2 separate regions of the Homo sapiens genome follow, and region 1 is linked to region 2. The links are contacts of gene promoters, found by promoter capture Hi-C in human tissues and cell types (Jung and others, 2019). All regions are on one chromosome and are shown on one strand. The core of a region is centred on a gene start or on the middle of the fragment in contact, and the rest is flanking DNA. Distances in the headings are between cores, read along the strand shown. Region 1 has its middle 53 kb from the start of GORASP2. Region 2 holds the start of CYBRD1 (cytochrome b reductase 1).

The links. Contacts are between HindIII fragments. The study calls those that stand out against the background at their distance.
Region 1: a contact is called between a fragment that was not itself captured here and the fragment with the promoter of CYBRD1 in region 2, in 1 of the 25 tissues and cell types used here (H1 embryonic stem cells).

The regions. Positions count from the first base shown.
Region 1 is chr2:170,980,637-170,983,357 of GRCh38, reverse strand. No RefSeq gene overlaps it. Among named protein-coding and RNA genes, the nearest start is that of GORASP2, 53 kb to the right of the region's middle. The HindIII fragment of the contact is 3,070 bases long and covers 1-2,721 here.
Region 2 is chr2:171,521,103-171,523,814 of GRCh38, reverse strand. It overlaps CYBRD1 (cytochrome b reductase 1), which reads right to left and starts at 1,341. Exons shown (of 4, transcript NM_024843.4): 1 at 1,077-1,341. The coding sequence starts at 1,269. RefSeq lists silencers at 703-772, 923-1,032 and an enhancer at 1,143-1,252. The HindIII fragment of the contact is 9,103 bases long and covers 1-2,712 here.

The DNA.
Region 1 (2,721 bases), core at 20-2,519, 540 kb after region 2:
TCATATCCCCGGTGACCTGCATGTACACATCCAGATGGCTGGTTCCAGCCTTAACTGATGACATTCCACCACAAAAGAAGTGAAAATGGCCTGTTCCTGCCTTTACTGATGACATTGTCTTGTGAAATTCCTTCTCCTGGCTCATCCTGGCTCAAAAGCTCCCCCACTGAGTACCTTGTGACCCCCCACTCCTGCCCGCCAGAGAACAACCCCCCTTTTTCCTTTACCTACCCAAATCCTATAAAACGGCCCCACCCCTATCTCCCTTCGCTGACTCTCTTTTCGGACTCAGCCCACCTGCACCCAGGTGATTAAACGCTTTATTGCTCACACAAAGCCTGTTTGGTGGTCTCTTCACACGGACGCGAATGAAATTTGGTGCCATGACTCGGATCAGGGTACCTCCCTTGGGAGATCAATCCCCTGTCCTCCTGCTCTTTGCTCTGTGAGAAAGATCCACCTACGACCTCAGGTCCTCAGACCGACCAGCCCAAGAAACACCTCACCAATTTCAAATCGAGTAAGCAGTCTCTTTTTACTGTCTTCTCCAACCTCTCTCACTATCCCTCAACCTCTTTCTCCTTTCAATCTTGGCACCACACTTCAATCTCTCCCTTCTCTTAATTTCAATTCCTTTCATTTTCTGGTAGCGACAAAGGAGACACGTTTTATCCATGAACCCAAACTCCAGCGTCGGTCACGGACTGGGAAGGCAGGCTTTCCTTGGTGTTTAATCATTGCAGGGACACCTGTCTGATTATTCACCCACGTTTCAGAGGTGTCAGACCATGCAAGGATGCCTGCCTTGGTCCTTCACCCTTAGCGGCAAGTCCCGCTTTTCTGGGGGAGGAGCAAGTACCCCAACCCCTTCTCTCCGTGTCTCTACCCCTTCTCTGCTTTTCTGGGGGAGAGGCAAGAACCCCTCAACCCCTTCTCCCTCACCCTTAGCAGCAAGTCCCACTTTTCTAAGGGGCAAGAACCCCCAATCCCTTATTTCCATGCCCCGACCTCTTATCTCTGTGCCCCAATCCCTTATTTCTGCACCCTGACCTCTTATTTCTGTGCCCCATCCCTTATTTCCACACCCCGACCTCTTATCTCTGCGCCCCAACCCCTTATTTCCATGCCCCGACCCCTTTCACGCTTTTCTGGAAGTTAAGAACCCCCGAACCCCTTTCCTCCGTGTCTCTACTCTCTCTTTTCTCTAGGCTTGCCTCCTTCACTACGGGCAACATTCCACCCTCCATTCCTCTGTCTCCCTTCGCCTGTGCTCTCAAGAACTTAAAACCTCTTCAACTCACGCTGGACCTAAAACCTAAATGTCTTATTTTCTTCTGCAATGCTGCTTGACCGCAATACAAACTTGACAGTAGTTCCAAATAGCCAGAAAACGGCACTTTCAATTTTTCCATCCTGCAAGATCTAAATAATTCTTGTCGTAAAATAGGCAAACGGTCTGAGCTGCCTGATATCCAGGCATTCTTTTACACATCAGTCCCTCCCTAGTCTGTGCCCAATGCAACTCACCCCAAATCTTCCTTCTTTCCCTCCCGCCTGTCCCCTCAGTCCCAACCCGAAGTGTCGCTGAGTCTTTCTAATCTTCCTTTTCTACAGACCCATCTGACCTCTCCCCTCCTCCCCAGGCTGCTCCTCACCAGGCCAAGCTAGGTCCCAATTCTTCCTCAGCCTCTGCTCCTCCACCCTATAATCCTTTTATCACCTCCCCTCCTCACACCGGGTCCGGCTTACAGTTTCGTTCCATGACTAGCCCTCCCCCACCTGCCCAGCAATTTACTCTTAAAAAGGTGGCTGGAGCTAAAGGCATAGTCAAGGTTAATGCTCCTTTTTCTTTATCCCAAATCAGATAGCGTTTAGGCTCTTTTTCATCAAATATAAGAACCCAGCCCAGTTCATGGCTCGTTTGGCAGCAACCCTGAGACACTTTACAGCCCTAGCCCCTAAAAGGTCAAAAGGCCATCTTATTCTCAATATGCATTTTATTACCCAATCTGCTCCTGACATTAAATAAAACTCCAAAAATTAAATTCCAGCCCTCAAACTCCACAACAGGACTTAATTAACCTCGCCTTCAAGGTGTACAATAATAGAGGCAGCCAAATAGCAACATATTTCTGAGTTGCAATTCCTTGCCTCCACTGTGAGACAAACCCCAGCCACATCTCCAGCACACAAGAACTTCCCAACGCCTAAACCGCAGTGGCCAGGCATTCCTCCAGGCCCGCCTCCCCCAGAAGCTTGCTACAAGTGCCAGAAATCTGGCCACCAGGTCAAGGAATGCCCACAGCCCAGAATTCCTCCTAAGCCGTGTCCCATCTGTGCAGGACCCCACTGGAAATCAGACTGTTCAACTCACCTGGCAGCCACTCTCAGAGCCCCTGGAACTCTGGCCGAAGGCTCTCTGACTCCTTCCCAGATCTTCTTGGCTTAGCGGCTGAAGACTGACGCTGCCCGATCGCCTCGGAAGCCCCATAGACCATCACGGACGCCGAACTTTAAGTAACTTTCACAGTGGAGGCTAAGTCCGTCCCCTTCTTAATCAATACGGAGGCTACCCACTCCACATTGCCTTCTTTTCAAGGGCCTGTTTCCCTTGCCTCCATAACTGTTGTGGGTATTGACGGCCAGGCTTCTAAACCTCTTAAAACTCCCCAACTCTGTTACCAACTTAGACAATACTCTTTTAAGCACTCCTTTTAGTTA
Region 2 (2,712 bases), core at 92-2,591:
TTACAAATAAATGGTGTTTGCGCCAAAAGCTAGAGGTTCCTCCAGCTACACGGCAAACCGAAGGAAGCAGTCAGGACATTGAGAGGCACTACACAATGACAACAAACATTGCCAGCGACTGCTGAGCCCCTCCCCCGCGCCAGCCTCAGCCCAGAGAATGCAGGCCCGGGGCTGGCTCGCCGCGGGCCAAACACGGACGCAGCTTGCGCCGGGGGCATCCCGAGCAGAGGCATCCCTCGGTGCCAGGCAGCCGCGGGCCCTCTCCGGGCATCTCCCACCCGGAGTGCTGGGCCAGTGCCCAATAGGAAGCCCCGCGGGGGAACTTTCGCCACTCTTCTGCCACATAAACAAGTCGGGCTCAAGACCGTCCAATGACTGGGCAGGGCGGCGAAACACACTTGGAAGTCCTGGCAGCTTCCCGGACTCGACTGAGTTTAACACTCTAGGAGGAGAGGAACCCAGGGCGGATGCTTCACTCGCCCCCCTTGGCCAGCCCCTTTACCCAGGGCCGAGGATGTTACAAATACGGGCAAATTCTCGCTCCGGCAATCTTTTCCCCGCTGCCTTCCCCTCCTCATCTGCAGCCTGGAAGCAAGTTCAGCAAAAGGCTGAGGCGAAAGTGTTTCCGCGCCCCCGATCGCGCAGGCTCGGTCCACAGGGGCGACTTTCCGGGGCGCGTGGGCTGCAGCGGCCCGACTGCGCGGCGCTCCGGCATCGCGCCCGGGCTCAAGTTTCTGGGTCTTGGAGGCCCCTCCAGTGCGTCCTAGCCAGTCGCCGCAAAGAGTTAACCAAGTGGGGCCGGCCCCGCTCCGCCGCCCCCAGCAGCGCGTCTCCACCGCGCACCCCCGGCCCCGCGCTCGCGGCGATCCTCCTGAACCGCAGCTCTGTCCCGCCCCAGAGCCAGCCAGCCTCCCTCCCGCCCAGCCGACTTGGCTTCCCGCGCGCTCCTCACCGCACTCCTCCGGGCCCCGCGATCCTCCAGCACTTCCTCAGCTGGAAGGGGCTTCACGGAGGACCCTCTGCCCCCGCCGTTCTCCCCGCTTTCCTCCCCGCACCCCCCCAGGAGGTGCCAGTACCGATGCCCTGGATGAAGACGAAGCCGGTGACCATGAGCACTGGGTGCCAGTTAAACTCTAGTGCGCTCCCATCCCAGCCAAGCCCCTCTCGGTAGTGGAGGACCCAGACGAGGGCGAAGATCACCGACAGGAAGCCGACGAGCAGTGCCGACCCCAGCAGCGCCAGGAAGCGCCAGTAGCCCTCCATGGCCATCAGCGCCCCATACTCCGCACCGCGGGGGCCACAAGAACTTGGAGAGGCGGCGGCAGCCCTCTGGGTAGTGGCCGGGCGGCGGGACCGGGGCGTCGACTTCTTGGGGCTGTCTCCGCCTGCGGGGAGGGACTTTCTGGGCTGCTGGCCCGGAATGTGGGGCCTCTTGGGGGTGGGGAGCTGGCCCCAACTCAGAAATGGGCCCCACCCCCGGGATCACGCGGCCGCCGAGGGCGCTCATTGCCTGGTGGCCTCACCCTCTCCCTCGTCCAGCATCCAAGCTCGCAGAGGGCTTCAGTAACAGACCTAGTTAGTTGCTCAAAGAGAAAATTCCGAGGATTTTATACTCACCACTTGCTTTTAACACTTCCCGTGTCTCGTCCTTATTTGTGGGGAGGTTGAGTAGGGCAGTGGTGCGCCCTCTTGGTTAAGAGAAGAGAGGGATCCGTTGGGTAGGGTTATGTGTGTGCTTTTAACTACTAACGAAGCCTCCTTAGCCACAGTGCTGGAGAATTGGCTGTCTCTGACATCAAAGGGTGTTAAGGAGGAACCTGTAAGGTGGTGTAAACTAAAAATAAAATCCTAAGCCCCTCACTGACTGAATGGACCTCCTTGGCCAAGCAGACCCCAGAAAAACCTTAAAGCTGAGTTTCTAGCTACAGCCGGAAGGGAAGTCTACCCCCTCCATTTTGGAATTTAGACTCAACAGCTGACTAGCATTAATGTTTAAAATAGAAATCATAAGGCGGACAGAACAGACTCTTTGTAGCAATAAGACATCAAATTATAAAAAGGACCTAAGTCACACACTCCTACACTTAAGAAATAAACTATGGTCTAACTGCCACAAAGGTTTTCTTTTCCTCTAGAGGCTAAACAAGCACTGGCTTGAGATAAGCAATATTAAAACAATTACAACTTAATCAGTTCACAGATGCTGACCAGCTGAACCCCTGTTGCACCAGCCAGAACTACAGCTTTCACTGGGCTGATTTCAGGAACTTTTTCATGATAAGAAGACCGACCATGGACCGGTTCTGGCCAGTGTACAGGGATTGTGCACTTGTATGCATTCACGTCCTGAAAAGACCTTTTGAAGTGTAGGTTTGAAGTAATACATTTAAATGTATTTGAAGTAATACAATTAAATGTTAAGTCTCCACCCCAAAGAGAACATGTTACATGCATGTTTGTTCAATATGCATGTGTAAGGACCACCTCCATTAATATTCATAGCTCCTCCTGTAACCTGTTACGTATGTATGTTTGGCCAAACTGTTCAGCATAAAGCTCCTACCCCAACCCCTCTGCCTTCCAAGTGCCTGTCTCTGGTCTTAGGCCAGAGGCTATGTTTATCAGCCTATGGAATGGCCTCCTTGCAGGCTATAACCTTTTATAAGAAATAAAGTCTCCTCTTTTTTCAAATTTATAATTTTTTGTTTTAAG